2 separate regions of the Homo sapiens genome follow, and region 1 is linked to region 2. Evidence: promoter capture Hi-C in human tissues and cell types (Jung and others, 2019). All regions are on one chromosome and are shown on one strand. The core of a region is centred on a gene start or on the middle of the fragment in contact, and the rest is flanking DNA. Distances in the headings are between cores, read along the strand shown.

Region 1 (7,004 bases), core at 2,060-4,559, 200 kb before region 2:
ATTTGTTTCAAGAAACTTTTAAATTTCTTTCTTAAGGCTGGGCATGGTGGCTCTTGCCTGTGATCCCAGCACTTTGGGAGTCCAAGCGGGTGGATTGCTTTAGTCCAGGAGTTCAGAACCAGCCTGCACAACATGGCAAAACCCCAAAATACAAAAATTAGCCTGGTGTGGTGGTGCATGCCTGTAGTACAGCTACTTGAGAGGCTGAGGTGGGAGGATTGCTTGATCCCGGGAGGTGGAGGTTGCAGTAAGCAGAGATCATGCCACTGTACTCCAGCCTGGATGACAGAGTGAGACCCTGTCTCAAAAAAACAACAACAAAAATTCCCTCTTAATTTCTTCCTTGATCCATTGGTTGTTCAGGAACATGTTATTTAATTTCCATGTATTTGTACAGTTTCAAAAGTTCCTCGTTATTAATTTCCAGTTATATTCCATTGTGGTCAGAAAATAAACTTGATCTGATTTAAATTCCATTAAGTTTGTTGTGACTTGTTTTTTGGCCTAACGTGATCTATCCTGGAAAATGTTCCATGTGCTAATGAAAAGAATGTGTATTCTGCTGCTTTTGTTGAAATGTTCTGTAAAAGTCTGTTAGGTCTATTTGGCTTAAAGTGCAGTTTAAATTCAGTGTTTCTTTGTTGATTTTCTGTTTAGATGATTTGTCTAGTACTGAGAGTGGGCTGTTGCCAACGATTATTGTATTGGAGTCTGTCTCTTCCTTGATATCTAATATTTGCTTTGTGTATTTGGGTGCTCTGGCATTGAGTGCATATGTATTTAGAATTGTTGTATCCTCTTGTCTGGGTGTGGTACCTTGTGTCTGTAGTCTCAGCTACCCAGGAGGCTGAGATGGGAGGATTACATGAGGCTAGGAGTTCAAGACTGCAGTATGCTATGATTGTATCTGGGCAAGAGAGCAGCAAGACTCTGTCTCTAAAAAAACAAACAGGAATTCAGAATTCCTTTTTGGATCTGCAATTATCTGGATCTGCATATATCTGGATCTGCAATTAAAAACATATATATATATATATATATATTCTCTTTTTGAACTGATCTCTTTATCATTATATAATGACCATTTTTTTCTCTTTTTACAGTTTTGGACTTAAAGCCTGTTTTATCTGCATGTTTTTCTTTTTCATTTGCTTGAAATTTTTTTTTTAATTCCTTTACTTTCAGTTTATATGTGTTTTTACTGGCAAAGTGAATTTCTTGTAGGCAGCATATAGTTGGGCCACTTTTTTTTTTTAAATCCATACAGGCAGTGTGTATGCTTTAAGTGGAGAATTTAATTGGTTTACATTCAAGTTTATTATTGATAGATGAGGGCTTTTTGTTGTTGTTAATTGTTTTCTGGTTGTGTATCCTTTGTTCCTTTCTTCCTCTCTTATTGTTTATCATTGTGTTTTAGTGATTTTCTGTAGTGATAATGTTTGATTTTTTTTTTTATTTCTACTATGTGTATCTGGTCTGCCAGTGAGTTTTATACTTTTTCATTTTTTCATGATGGTGATTATTGCATTTTTGTTTCCACATGCAGGACTCTCCTGAGCATTTCTTGTAAGTTTGGTCTAGTGGTGATGAATTCCCTCAGTTTCTCCTTGTCTAGGAGAGACTTTATTTCTCCATTATTTCTGTAGGATAGCTTTGCTGGGTGTAGTATTTTTGGTAGGCAATTCTTTTCTTTCAAAATTTCAGAACTTTGAAAATATCTATTTTTTACTGGCCTATAAGGTTTTTGCTGAGAAATCTGTTCTTAGTCTAATGGGGATTCCCTTATATGTAACTTGATGCTTTTCTCTTGCTGTTTTTAGAATTGTCTCTGTCTTTCACTTTTTACAATTTGACTTTGTTTGCCTTGGGGAGGACCTTTTTGAGTCTAATCTATTTGAGAACTTTTGAGCTTCTTGGATCTAGATGTCCATATTTCTTCCCAGGCTTGGGAATTTTTCAGGTGTTACTGGTTTTCTATGCCATTTTTATCTCTTCTTAATTGTTCACTTAATGGTGTTCCATAAATCTTATAGGCTTTTTTCACTCTTGTATTCTTTTCCCCCTCAAGTAATTTTAAATGACTTATCTTCACGTTCAGAGATTCCTTTTTCTACTTGATCAAGTCTGCTGTTGAAGCTTTCTGTGGTATTTTTTTGTTTGATTTATTCAGCTGTTTGTTTGGTTCAACTCTTTTGGATTTTTGTTTGGTTCTTTTTCATGATATCTGTCTCTTTGTTGAATTTCTTATGCATAAGAAATTTTCCTGATTCTATTGAATTATATATCTGTATTTTCTTGTATCTAATTGAGTTTCCTTAAAATTCGTCTTTTGAATTTTTTTTCCTGGCAATTTGTTGATTTCCTTTTCATTTGGGTCTGTTACTAGAGAGATACGAAGTTCAAAATCTATATTAGGTTTTTCCAGAGGGACAGAAATGGTAGGATATGTATATATGAAAGGGAGTTTACTGGGGAGAATTGGCTTACATAATTACAAAGGTGACATCCCATGATCGGCCATCTGCAAGCCGGGGGATGAGAAAAGCTAGTACCATGGTTCATTCCAAGTCTAAAACCCTCAAAACCAGAGAAGCTGACAGTACAGTACCCGGTCTGAGACTGAAGGCCTGCAAACCCCCAAGAGTCTTTTGTTACAGGTCCCAAAGCCCAAAGGCCAAAGAACCTGTGTCAAATGTCCAAGGGCAGGAGGAGAAAAGGTGTTCTGCTCTGGGAGGGAGAGAGAGAGAGGAAACCAAGCAAGCTGAATATCACCCTTCTGCCTGCTTTGTTCTAGCTTTACCCACAGTCTGTTGGATAGTGCTCGCCCACAATGATGGCAGATGTTCCTCTTTCATTCACTGACTCACATGTCATTCTCCTCTGGAAAACCCTCACAGACACACCCAGAAACAATGTTCCACCAGCCATCTAGGCATCCCTCAATGCAGTCAAATTGACACCTCGTATTAGCCATCAGTTCATTTTGTCGTGTCATATTTCCTTGCTTTTTCATGTTTCTTATGTCACTGCATTGATATCTGTACATCTTGTGGAATTGTTGTGTCTTCTGAACTTCCTAGATTGGCTTTTGTAGAGAATGATTCACCTGCAGTTGAATCTTAGTGTGCTGGCTGGGAAAGATGTGGTGACTCTGTTTCTGGGTGGGTATAGTGGTATAACTTCCATGCAGCTTCTCTGGTGGTGTTCAACATCAGCAATAACTGTGGCCTAGGCTATAGAAGTTTGTGGTAGCAGCAGTGGTGACATAGGCTGTTAATGTCCTTGGTGGCAAGGCCTTTTGGGCTCCGCCTATTCTCATTTTCTCCACAGTGGGGAGACTTACCCAAGGGGATCCCTCTTGGTGTCATGTCTTTCATGGACTGTGAGTACCAGTAGCAGCGCTGGGTTCCAGGTGCAGGTGCTTGGAGGGGCTGTGGGGCCTGGGTTTCATGAACCTATTATGGCACTTGGGTCTTGGCGTGACATTTTGCTCTCTGTTGTAGGGGTAGATTTAGGTTGCCACAGAGTCAGGATCTGTGACTCTGAGGCACCTTCTAGCAGCTTGGATTCAGGGAGTTGGGTTGTTTACCCCGGGGGAACAGGTCACATCTTGCCTCTGGGGAAGAAAGGGTGCTCCTGAGGTTTGAGCCCAGGGTGCAGGGTATAGCCACTATTTGGGAGTCTGAGCCAGTAGGGCTTAGTAGCAGCCATGTCCCTGGGGATGTAGTACTGTGTAGTGGTTACCTTAGACCCTGTGATGGTGGGGCTTGGCAGTATCCCAGACTCTGTGATCCCAGGTGCAGTGTCAGCAAGTATGTCAGAATGGCCAAATACAGATGTCATTTGGGCCCTTGAGGGTTATGGAGCAGCACAGCAGGGAGTCCACTCCCCATGGAGAAGGGTGTCTCAGCAGCTCAGACTCTAGGGGCTAGTCTAGCTCCAGGGAAGCAAGTTACTAGAGTTGTTTGACCTGTATGGAGGAATGTCTCAGCTCAGCCACTGCTCTGTTTTCCTGGGATGAGGGGTGTTATATCGGCCTAGCCCTAGGCTCTGTAGCTCAGCCAGGGCATCAGTTCCCCAGGAGGTATTGTACTGTTAAGAGAATGAAATGATAAGCCATAGACTGAGAGGAAATATTTGCAAAACACACATCTGATAAAGGACTGGTATTCAAAAGATATAAATAATTCAACAATAAGAAAACAAATAACCTAGTTTTTAAAATGAGCAGAAGATCTGAACAGACACCTTACAAAGAAGATGCAAGAATGGTAAATAAGTATGTCAAAAGATGCTCAGCATCATTATCATTAGGGAAATGCAGAGTAAAACAACAGTGAGATACCACTACATGGCTATGGCGAAATCCTGAAATCTGACACTACCAATTTTTTGTGAGAATACAGAGCAGTGGGAACTCTAATTCATTGATGGTTGCAATTCAAAATGGTACGGCTGCTTTGGAAGAGTCTGGCATTTTCCTGTAAAGCTAAGCTTAATCTTACCATATGATCCATCACTTGTGCTCTTAGATATTTATTTAACTGATTAAAAAACTTATTTCCACACAAAAAATCTTCATACTTATTTTTATAGCAACTTTATTTATAATTGCTCAGAATTGGAAGCAGCTAAGATGTCCTTCCATAGATGAATGGATAAAGAAACTGTGGCACATACGTATAATGAAATACCGTCCAGCAATAAAAAGGAATGAACTATTAAGCCACATGAAGACATGGATGAATCTTAAATACATACCGCTTAGTGAAAGTAGCCAATCTGAAAATATTACATACTGTGTGTTTCCAGTTATATGACATTCTGGAAAATGCAAAACTAGAGACAGTAAATAGATCACTGGTTGTCAGGGTTGAGGCACAGGTGAATAAATGAAACATGGGAGTTTTTTTAGAGCATTGAAATTATTCTGTGTGACACAGTAAAGTTCGATATGTAACACTGTTAAAACCCTTAGAACTTTATAGCAGAAAGAGTGAATCTTTAAAGTATGTATATTTTAAAAAATCATTTAGGAGTTGGGGTGATCCCAGGATGGAATGCAGACTATGACAGGAGAATATAACTGTATTACAGATGTATGAACTTGTGATGTATGAAACAACCTCACTGAAAAGAGTAGGGGGAAAGGTGCTGGCTACCTAACTTTGGAAATAAATAGCAACAATAAGACTAAAGGCAAAAGAAACTGTGTATAACCAGTGAATAAAAGTTTCCCCATGGCATCATGAGTTAACAATTCTGAAACCACTATACGTATATACTGAGGTTGAACAATTAAGTAAATGAATGGCAGATGATGAGAGCTGGATTTCTCGCCGTTGGAGTAAGAAGTTACAGATAAGGGGAGAAGGCTAGAATGATTCATGTGATAATAATGGATTAGAGTTGGAGACATTAGTATGAACTCATGTTTAGACAGCTCTAGATAAAGATGGAATTATATATGTATAAATACAGGCATATGCATATGCATGAGTTAGTGTACAGACACGTAGTCCCTTCTTTTGTCAGCTGAAAGGGCCTAGAAGCAAGGACATCCCAGTAGAAACTGGAATGGGGAGTTATATTCCACCTCCTTGAGGGTAAAGGCACTATATAAAATATTTGGCATTCTTCTGCTAAGGAAACTTATCTGTGTTCCCTTGTTTATTTGTTCGTTCATTTATATTAGTATGTACTCATGGATATTTCCCAGGTACAAGCACACCCATTGCCCAGATCTTGGTTTCTTTTTTTTTTTAATTATACTTTAAGTTTTAGGGTACATGTGCACAAAGTGCAGGTTAGTTACATACGAATACATGTGCCATGCTGGTGTGCTGCACCCATTAACTCATCATTTAGCATTAGGTATATCTCCTAATGCTATCCCTCCCCCCTCCCCCCTCCCCCCGATCTTGGTTTCTAATACAGTCCCCTCCTCCCTTGCTGAAAAGAGGAACTAGGGTCCTTGGAGGCATGGTTGATTTTTAAGAACTGGGGCAGGGAACATGCAGGGTGGATCTGGTGTATCTCATAGGGCCAGAAAGTAGAGGGGTACTCAAAAACAAACAACCCCCACCCCCTCTAGTGATGATATGGGCTGGGGCTATGTCAAGGGGCACAGGAGTCAACTGAGAGTTTCCAGTGGCCAAAGCTGGAACAATTTGAGCAACAAAGTAAAGTATAATGCATTATAACCCTGAGTATAAAAGAAATATCAATGAGTATATACTAGTATAAATGATTGAATAAATAAGGTAGCATAGAGAAGTTTCCTATGCAGAAGAATACCTAGTATTTTATGTAGAGCCTTTACCCTCAAGGAGGTGGAATATAACTCCCCACTCCTTAAGTGTGAGCTGCATGTAATGGCTTCTTGGTGTGGAAAGGGGGAAAAGAGTTATTTTACAGTAGAGAAACTTGGGAAACATCTTAACCAGGTGATCAAGGTCAGCATCAGCAGTGGTAATTCATGTTAATATTATGTACCCTTGATATGATGTGATGAGAATGATGCTTCTGTGATCTTCCTCTCTAAAATCGATAACCTTAGACTAATCATGAGAAAAACATCAGACAAATCATAATTGAGGACTGTTATGCAAATACCTGGATACTACTCCTCAAAACTGTCAAGTTCATCAAAGCAAGGAAACAAGGAAAGTCTGAGAAACTGTCACAGTTTCTTCTTAGAAGAACATAAGGAGACATAACAACTAAATGTAATGTGGTATCCTGGGATGGAAAAAGGACATTGGATAAAAATGAAGGAAGCCTGAAAAAAGTTGGACTTTAGTTAATTTGTCAATATTGTATCAATAAAAATTAATATATATTCATTAATTCTAACAGTCATACCATGCTAATGTAAAGTTTAAGATGAAACTGTGGGGGGGAGGGTACATGTAGTATCTGCAAATCTAAAACTATTATAAAATGGGAAGATTATTTTTTAAAAAAGAAAGCGAATACTCTATACACCAACTAAAAAAAGAGGA
Region 2 (7,669 bases), core at 1-2,500:
ATGTGCAAATACTGTAGGAAATATAGGAAGATAGAACACATTATCCCCATTCTTAAGATTCTTATGACAGTAAATGGAAACACAAAGGCCATTATTGACTAGCGGGAGTAAGATCGCTGTCCTTTAAATCACCTTCTTCATATTTGCATTCTCTGTGTGCTGTTTCTTGGCTCTGGGTTTCTCTCCTGCCTCATCTACACTAATCCTTTTCACTTCTTCATTCAAAACTGTACCTAGATTTATCTGCTCCAGGAAGCATTCCCACTCAAGTCTTGGTCCTGGGTTGAACTGACTCCTCCTCAGAATTGATGGATATAGCTTATCCAGTGTTATTGCACAGTCTTCAACTATTTCACATGGGCCTATGTGTCATGTTAGCTGGCCAGAAAAGAAGCTTTCTGGGGACCCTACCCTCCTGTTTCTCACTTCCCCTCTCTCCCTTTTTTTTTTTTTTTTTTTTTTTTGAGATGGAGTCTTACTTTGTTGCCCAGCCTGGAGTGCAGTGGCAGAATCTCTACTCACTGCAACCTCCGTTTCCCAGGTTCAAACAATTCTCCTGCCTCAGCATCCCTGGTAGCTGGGATTACAGGCGCACACCACCATACCCTGCTAATTTTTGTATTTTTAGTAGAGATGGGGTTTCCCCATGTTGGCCAGGCTGGTCTCGAACTCCTGACCTCAGGTGATCCACGAGCCTTGGCCTCCCAAAGTACTGGGATTACAGGCGTGATCCACCATGCCCAGCACCACCCCCCCACCCCCTGCCTCCTCTTAACCTACTGTTCTGTATATAGCCCAGGGCATGCTACTGAATGAATAGTCACTGTTGAATAGTCACTGTTTCATTGCTTGGTAATTCAGATCAGAAACTCATGGTGTTTCCCCTGGGTTTATCTGCAGTTCAGAAAAGTGACCCTGACTACATGCTTTGATTATGCCCTTTGCTCACAAAAAGATGATTAGTTTTGATTGTGCAGCATTTGGAATGAAGGAATTTAATCTGGAATGAAGGAACTTTAAAAGGTTGGGGGAATATCACATTGGAACTGTTAAATGACATGCAAACAGGATCTGTGAGAATGGTTTTGATTCTGCTCTGTGTCCTGGTAGGAGACACTAAATAGATCAGGCTCACTACCAATTAGCATCATCTTAATCTTGCCTAATAGTGAAGCAAAGTCACCAAGGATTTGGTGGATTTATCAGCTCCTCCCACAATAGTCATCTGAGGCTAACACCTCTTGGAACCTAGATCGAAAGTCCTTTGGTAATGATGTGTCATACATTCTAGTCATCAAAGACACCATTTTCTGGGCCTGAAGTGTTCTGCTGGTTTTTGGAGGAATGAGAATCCAATCTCTCATAAGCCGGATTCAGAAAATAGGTCATCGATGTGAGTTGCAGTTATTTTCCTTCCAGCTTTCTTCTGTGCTTGCTTTAGATTGTTTTTCTGCAAAGGGCAGATGCAGCTGCCCTGGCTGGTGGGCAGTGGAGGGGGATGACAGCCACTCTGGCTTTGGGCCTCTGTCTGACATCACCCAGATTCCTGGGTCCTCTCAGTTAGCATTTGCCTTTTGTCTGGGTGGTTAAATTTCTCTTGAAGGAGTAGGATAAACACCCTCTTGAGTATTGCTTTTTACACAGACACACACCACACACACACACACACACACACACACATACACACAGCATAGTTCATAGTCACTTGATTTGCCACCTGCAGTTTATAATAGAATGGACCTGTGGGATTATAAACCACTTTATTTCTGCACAGAATTTCTCAGCTTGAGGCCAAATTGAAGGGCATTAGTCATCAGTAATTTGCAGATGTTTTTAATGTTTTTCACCCAAGAGAGGTTTCAGGCAGCTAAAGCTAAGATAAATTTCCTCATGCTTTGGTGGGGAAATGAAAAATCTGATCATTTAGTTAATCATTTGTAAGAGCTGTGGGTATGTATTGTTCCTTAGTGACTGCAATATCATGACAGATTTGTTAATTTGGTAACATGACAATGTAAACAATAGTAGATAAATTCCATTATGCCATGATTCTTTTCTTCCTCTCAGTAATTTTGTATATTCAAGGTTTAAAATCCATAGAACATTAGAGATGGAACTTAGAGATCAACCTAGAGATCATTGGATTCCTCTACCAAGCTCTGTCAAATGCCAGTCCTGAGTGTCTCCCCTGGAGCATCAGGATAAATAGCTAATGCATGGGGGGCTTAATAGGTGCAGCCAACCCACCATAGCACATGTTTATCTGTGTAACAAACCTGCACGTCCTGCACATGTAACCTGGAACTTAAAATAAAATAAAATTTAAAGAAAGGAAAAGAGTACATAATCAGTGGAACCATAAAGGTCAGTTCTAGTGGGAAAATTAGGAAAGGCCTCCTAGAAGAGAAGACATTTGAGCTATACTTGAACAGGCCCTATCTAGCAGCATCCAGATAGGTGGTTTGTGAAGAAGCCAGTTCCTACTCTTACGTCTTTACCATGGTTATGGTTTGAATGTCCCCTCCAAAGATCATGTTGAAATTTAATTGCCATTGTGAGAAGAAATGGGACCTTTAAGAGGTGACTAGGTCATGAGGGCTCTGCCCTTATGAATGGATTAATGCTGTTATTGTGGGAGACGGCTCCTAGTAAAAGGATAGGTTCAGTCTCCTTTTTCTCTCTCTTGAGCTCTCACTCTCTTGCCCTGTCTCACTATGTGAGACCTTCCACCATGTTATGATGCAGCAAGAAGGCCCTCACCAGATGTGGCCCCTTGATCTTGGACTTCCCAGCCTCCAGAACCATGAGCCAAATAAACTTCTATTGTTTATAAATGATGCAGTCTGTGGTATTCTGTTACAGCAGCAGAAAATGGACTAACACAACTATTATGCACTTGCTTATGTATTGGTTTGGAATTATTCTCTAATTTACTCACGCTTGTATGGTATGTGTTTCCTTATTCTGTGTATCTCTGGGTGTTATATTTAATATTTGTACAGATTTCCTCTGACATTTCACAGTTCAGGTTTCCGATTTCTTCTTTCTAAAATCTATTCTCTAGATTTGAAAGCATTCTATGATTTGTGATTCATATATACCATACTATAACATCTAGAAAAAATATTCTGAATAGCATACTGAGCAATGGAAATCTTCATCATGAATTTTCTAATGAGTATAAAATGTTGCTGGGCAAGTTTCTATTTAAATCATGCTCGCTAGGCTTGACTAACTGCAGACATTCACAGGGTGCATGCTGCAGAGTGCTTTACTTTCAACAAGGTAAGGCTGTACCTCCGTTAGGGACTAATTCAGGGTATTCAACAAGGGATCAGACTAGACCAATTTGGGGTTGTTAAGGAACTAAAACTAGCTCACGAGAAACTCAAATCAGCTCATGAAAAGAGGGGCTGCTTGGAAGAATGCAGTAGGAAATTTCATGGGTTACAAGGACAGACAGCAAAGCTTAGCAGGCCTCAGAGGGCCAAGATGTAGAATTCACAGTGAACCCACTCACTAATCCTCTTTGTCTCACTCTCTCAAGCATGGTCCTTTCAGTTTCTTATTTCTCTGTTTTCTTTTTCTTCTCAGGATGAGCCTCTGTTTCATATGGTTTCTGCTATCCTCTGACTTCAGCACACATTTGGGTCATAATAGTCTCCTCTGTAGAGATCTCTTATATGTTTTTTTAAAAAATATTTATTTTAAAAAGTAGAATAACATATGCACTAGCAAAAAACATGACTAAAAATGTGTAATAATTTTAAAAAGCATATAAATTTCTCTCTTTTCCAAACTCTCTGATTTTTACCACCTCTCCCTAAAGTTTAAGAGTTTCCTGTGTAGCCTTCTGGAAAAATGTATATAAGGATATACACATACATAGAGACATACACACAAATATACACATAAAATGACTAGAAATGCAAATATTCTTTGTATTTACACAAAAATTGTCCTCTCTATACACTATTCAACACTTTTAAAACAAATCTTAATTGTATATTTGGCATTCTTTCCATATTAATTGGCAGAAAATTTACCTTTTTTCTTTTTGGTGGTTACCTGTGGCTACATTGTATTTAATTTTATGTAACTATTATGATTTATTAGATAATCTCTCCATGATGATGGGCCTCTAGGTTGTATCTGGTTTTCTACTGAAAATAATACTATAGTGAACAATCTTGTATGTCTATCTACTTCAAGTTTAATAGAGTTTTAGCTCTTACATCTGTTTAATGATTAAAGTTAATTTTTATATGTGGTGTAAGGATAAAGATTCTTTTTTTCTTTTTGCATATTGCTCTACAATTGTTTTAGCACTGTTGAAAAGTTTTCCTTTCTAGTATGTAGAAATATAATTGAATTTAAAATATTGACCTTGTTTGTATCCTGTAATTCTGATAAACTCACTAATTAGTTCTAGTAATGTTTTTATAAATTCCATCAGTTTTTTAAATAGATAATCATGTAATCTTCAAATTAAGCCCATTTTACTTCTTCCCTTCTAATCTGGATTTTTAAATTTTCTTTTTCTTGACTTATTATTCTGGCTTCACCACAGTATTCAATATAAATGATGAGAGCAGACATCCTTGGCTTCTGATCTTAAGGTGAAAGCATTCGGTTTTTCACCATTAAGTGTGGTGTTAACTTCAGGTTTTTCCTAGATTCCTGTATCAGATGAAGAAGTTCCTTTCACTTTCTAGTCTGTTGAGAGATTTTTGTTGTTGTTTTTAAATTTTGAATAAATGTTGAATTTTTTGTGAATGCTTTTTCTGCATCGATCGAGATGATGGTTTTTCTTTTATGTTCTGTTAATATAAATCTAAGTGTGCTTTTTTTGATTATATATGTAAAGTAAATGCCTACCAGTAGAATTACAGAGACAAAGGGAATGGGCATTTGGTAGATTTTGACTAATAATTCCTCACAAAGATTGTTTACGCTTTCGCTCATGTTGTCTCAGAGTGCTTATTTCTCTTAACACTATTATCAAACTTCTAAAAATCTTGACAGTGTGATAGGAGACAAATGGTATCTCATTAGTTTGATTTGCCGTTTAAAATTTACTAGTGAGATTTAGCATCTTTTATACATTTAAATTTTTTGAGTCTTTTTCTTTTTTATTGTATATACTCTTGATAGAAAATTAGCTCCTGATACAAACCTTCTTTTCTATTTATTTTTTGGAAAAATGTTAGTACTTACAACAATTCTTTTGGTTGTAGAGACCTTTTTACTTGTATGCAATTATGTTTATCAATTTTTTTCTTAGGGCTTGTGAGTTTTCTATTCTACTTGAAAATATTTCTTGCCTACACCAAGACTATAATGTATTTAGCTATATTTTTTTAAAAAATTTTGAGCCACCATACTCTATTTTGGAGAAAGGAATGAGGTAGCAATCTGGCTTAACTTTTTTTCTGAACAGCCAGCAAGTTAAGCCAGCATAATTTATTGAACAGTATTATTTAGTCCATCTTTTGCCTATTGATTTGTAATGTGATTTTTATCATAAACCCTATTTCTTTGTGTATTTGAGTCTACTTTTGGTTTCTAGTCTAACGATCTGACTACTTATTTCTACCCCTGTGGCATAATGTTTTAATTACTCTAGCAGTATAACATGTTTTAGTGTCTGGTCAAATTATGTTCACTAATTATTCTTTTTTAAAATTTTCATGTTATGTGTTTTTCTTTTTCTGTTTCTTTTTTTTTTTTTTTGAGACTGAGTTTCACTCCATTGCCCAAGGTGGAGTGCAGTGGCGTGATCTCAGCTGTCTGCAACCTACGCCTCCCAGGTTTATGTTATTCTCCTGCCTCAGCCTCCTGAGTAGCTGGGATTACAGGCACCTGCACCACACCCGGCTAAGTTTTCTGTTTTTAGTAGAGACGAGGTTTCACCATGTTGGCCTGGCTGGTCAAACTCCTGACCTCAAGTGATCTGTCTGCCTTGGCCTCCCAAAGTGCTGGGATTACAGGTGTGAGCCACTGTGACCAGCCCTCATGTGTTTAATTTTCTAATGAAGTTTAATATCATTTTGTCAAATTCTTAAAAAAAAACAAAGCGGCTGGGCGCTGTGGCTCATGCCTGTAATCTAGGACTTTGGGAGGCCAAGGCGGGTGGATTGCCTGAGCTCAGGAGTTCAAGACCAGCCTGGGCAACACTGTGAAACCCCGTCTCTACTAAAATACAAAAAAATTAGCTGGGCGTGGTGGCATGCACCTGTAATCCCAGTTACTTGGGAGGCTCAGGCAAGAAAATTGCTTGAACCTGGGAGGCAGAGGTTGCAGTGAGCTGAGATCACACCATTGCACTCCAGCCTGGGCCACAGAGCAAGACTCTGTCTCAAAAAAAAACAATTATTTACTTTCAGACTAAATTTAGGAAGAATTGACATCTTCACAGTAAGGTTTTCTATCCAAGCATAAGGTATATGGTTTTGCATTTTTTTGGTCTCTTTTCATTTAATCCATTGATTTTAAGATTTTACTTTTATACATTCTGCTCTGTTCTCGTTAGGTTTAGCTTTGGGCATTTTACTCTCTTTAATTCCTATTAAAATGCTATTTTCTTTCTGGCTGATTACTTTTAACATATAGAAAAATATATTTTGAAATTGCTTGATTTCTAGATGCTAATTTTATACTCAGCTCCTCAATGAATCAACTTAATTTTTTTCATTGTTAAACTTTGATTTTCCAGGAATAAATCATTCCACTATTTATTTTATATTCACCATCTTCCCAGTGTTTATTTCTATGTTTTTTTGTCTAATCACAGTGGCTAATACTTCAAAAACAATGCAAAATTTTATAGTGTTTGTGAGAGATACTTGTCTTTTTTCTTGATTTTTATTAGCAATGGTTGTAGAAATCCATTATTAACTAAGATGTTGACTTTTGGTTTGAGAGATATGTTTCTGTGCTGTTTAAATGCTAGAAAGGAATTAACCCATTTGAATTTTTTAATGTTCTAAAAATTAGATATTAAAACTTACCAGATTCATTTTGGATTTCCATTTTTAATGGTGTTTCATACTTTGATATATTAATGGGAAAATCATAGTAATATATTCCCTAATGTTGCATTATCTTTGCTAAATTCTAATAGCTGATTTTTTTTCTGTGGTTTTATGTTTGTTTATTTTTAATTTTTAGTTTTTGTGGGTACATAATAGATGTATATATTTCTGGGGTACATGAGATTTTGATACAGGCATATAATGCATAAGAATCACATCAGGTTAAATGGGGTATCCATCACCTCAAGTATTTATCATTTCTTTGTATTACAATCTAATTATACTTTTAGTTATTTTTAAATTTACAATAAATTAGTGTTGATTGTAGTCATCCCTTTGTGCTATCAAATACTAGATCATATTCATTCTATTTTTTTGTACCCATTAACCATCCCTACTCCCCATCACCACTACCCTTCCCAGCCTCTGGTAACTATCCTTCTACTCTGTCTCCATGAGTTCAATTGTTTTAATATTTAGCTTTCACAAGTAAGTGAGAACATGCAAAGTTTGTCTTTTTGTGCCTGGCTTATTTCACCTAACATAATTACCTCCAGTTTCATCCATGTTGTTGCAAATGACAGGATCTCATTCTTTTTATGGCTGAATAATATTCCATTGTATATATAAACCTG

What was found. Contacts are between HindIII fragments. The study calls those that stand out against the background at their distance.
Region 1: a fragment that was not itself captured here is called in contact with the fragment with the promoter of MYO3B in region 2 in 2 of the 25 tissues and cell types used here (H1 embryonic stem cells and mesendoderm cells).

Annotation. Positions count from the first base shown.
Region 1 is chr2:169,974,865-169,981,868 of GRCh38, forward strand. The region is part of intron 24 of UBR3 (ubiquitin protein ligase E3 component n-recognin 3); the gene reads left to right. Among named protein-coding and RNA genes, the nearest start is that of UBR3, 150 kb to the left of the region's middle. The HindIII fragment of the contact is 5,554 bases long and covers 533-6,086 here.
Region 2 is chr2:170,176,897-170,184,565 of GRCh38, forward strand. It overlaps MYO3B (myosin IIIB), which reads left to right and starts at 1,251. Exons shown (of 35, transcript NM_138995.5): 1 at 1,251-1,393. The coding sequence starts at 1,392. RefSeq lists an enhancer at 3,433-3,662. The HindIII fragment of the contact is 10,734 bases long and covers 1-7,669 here.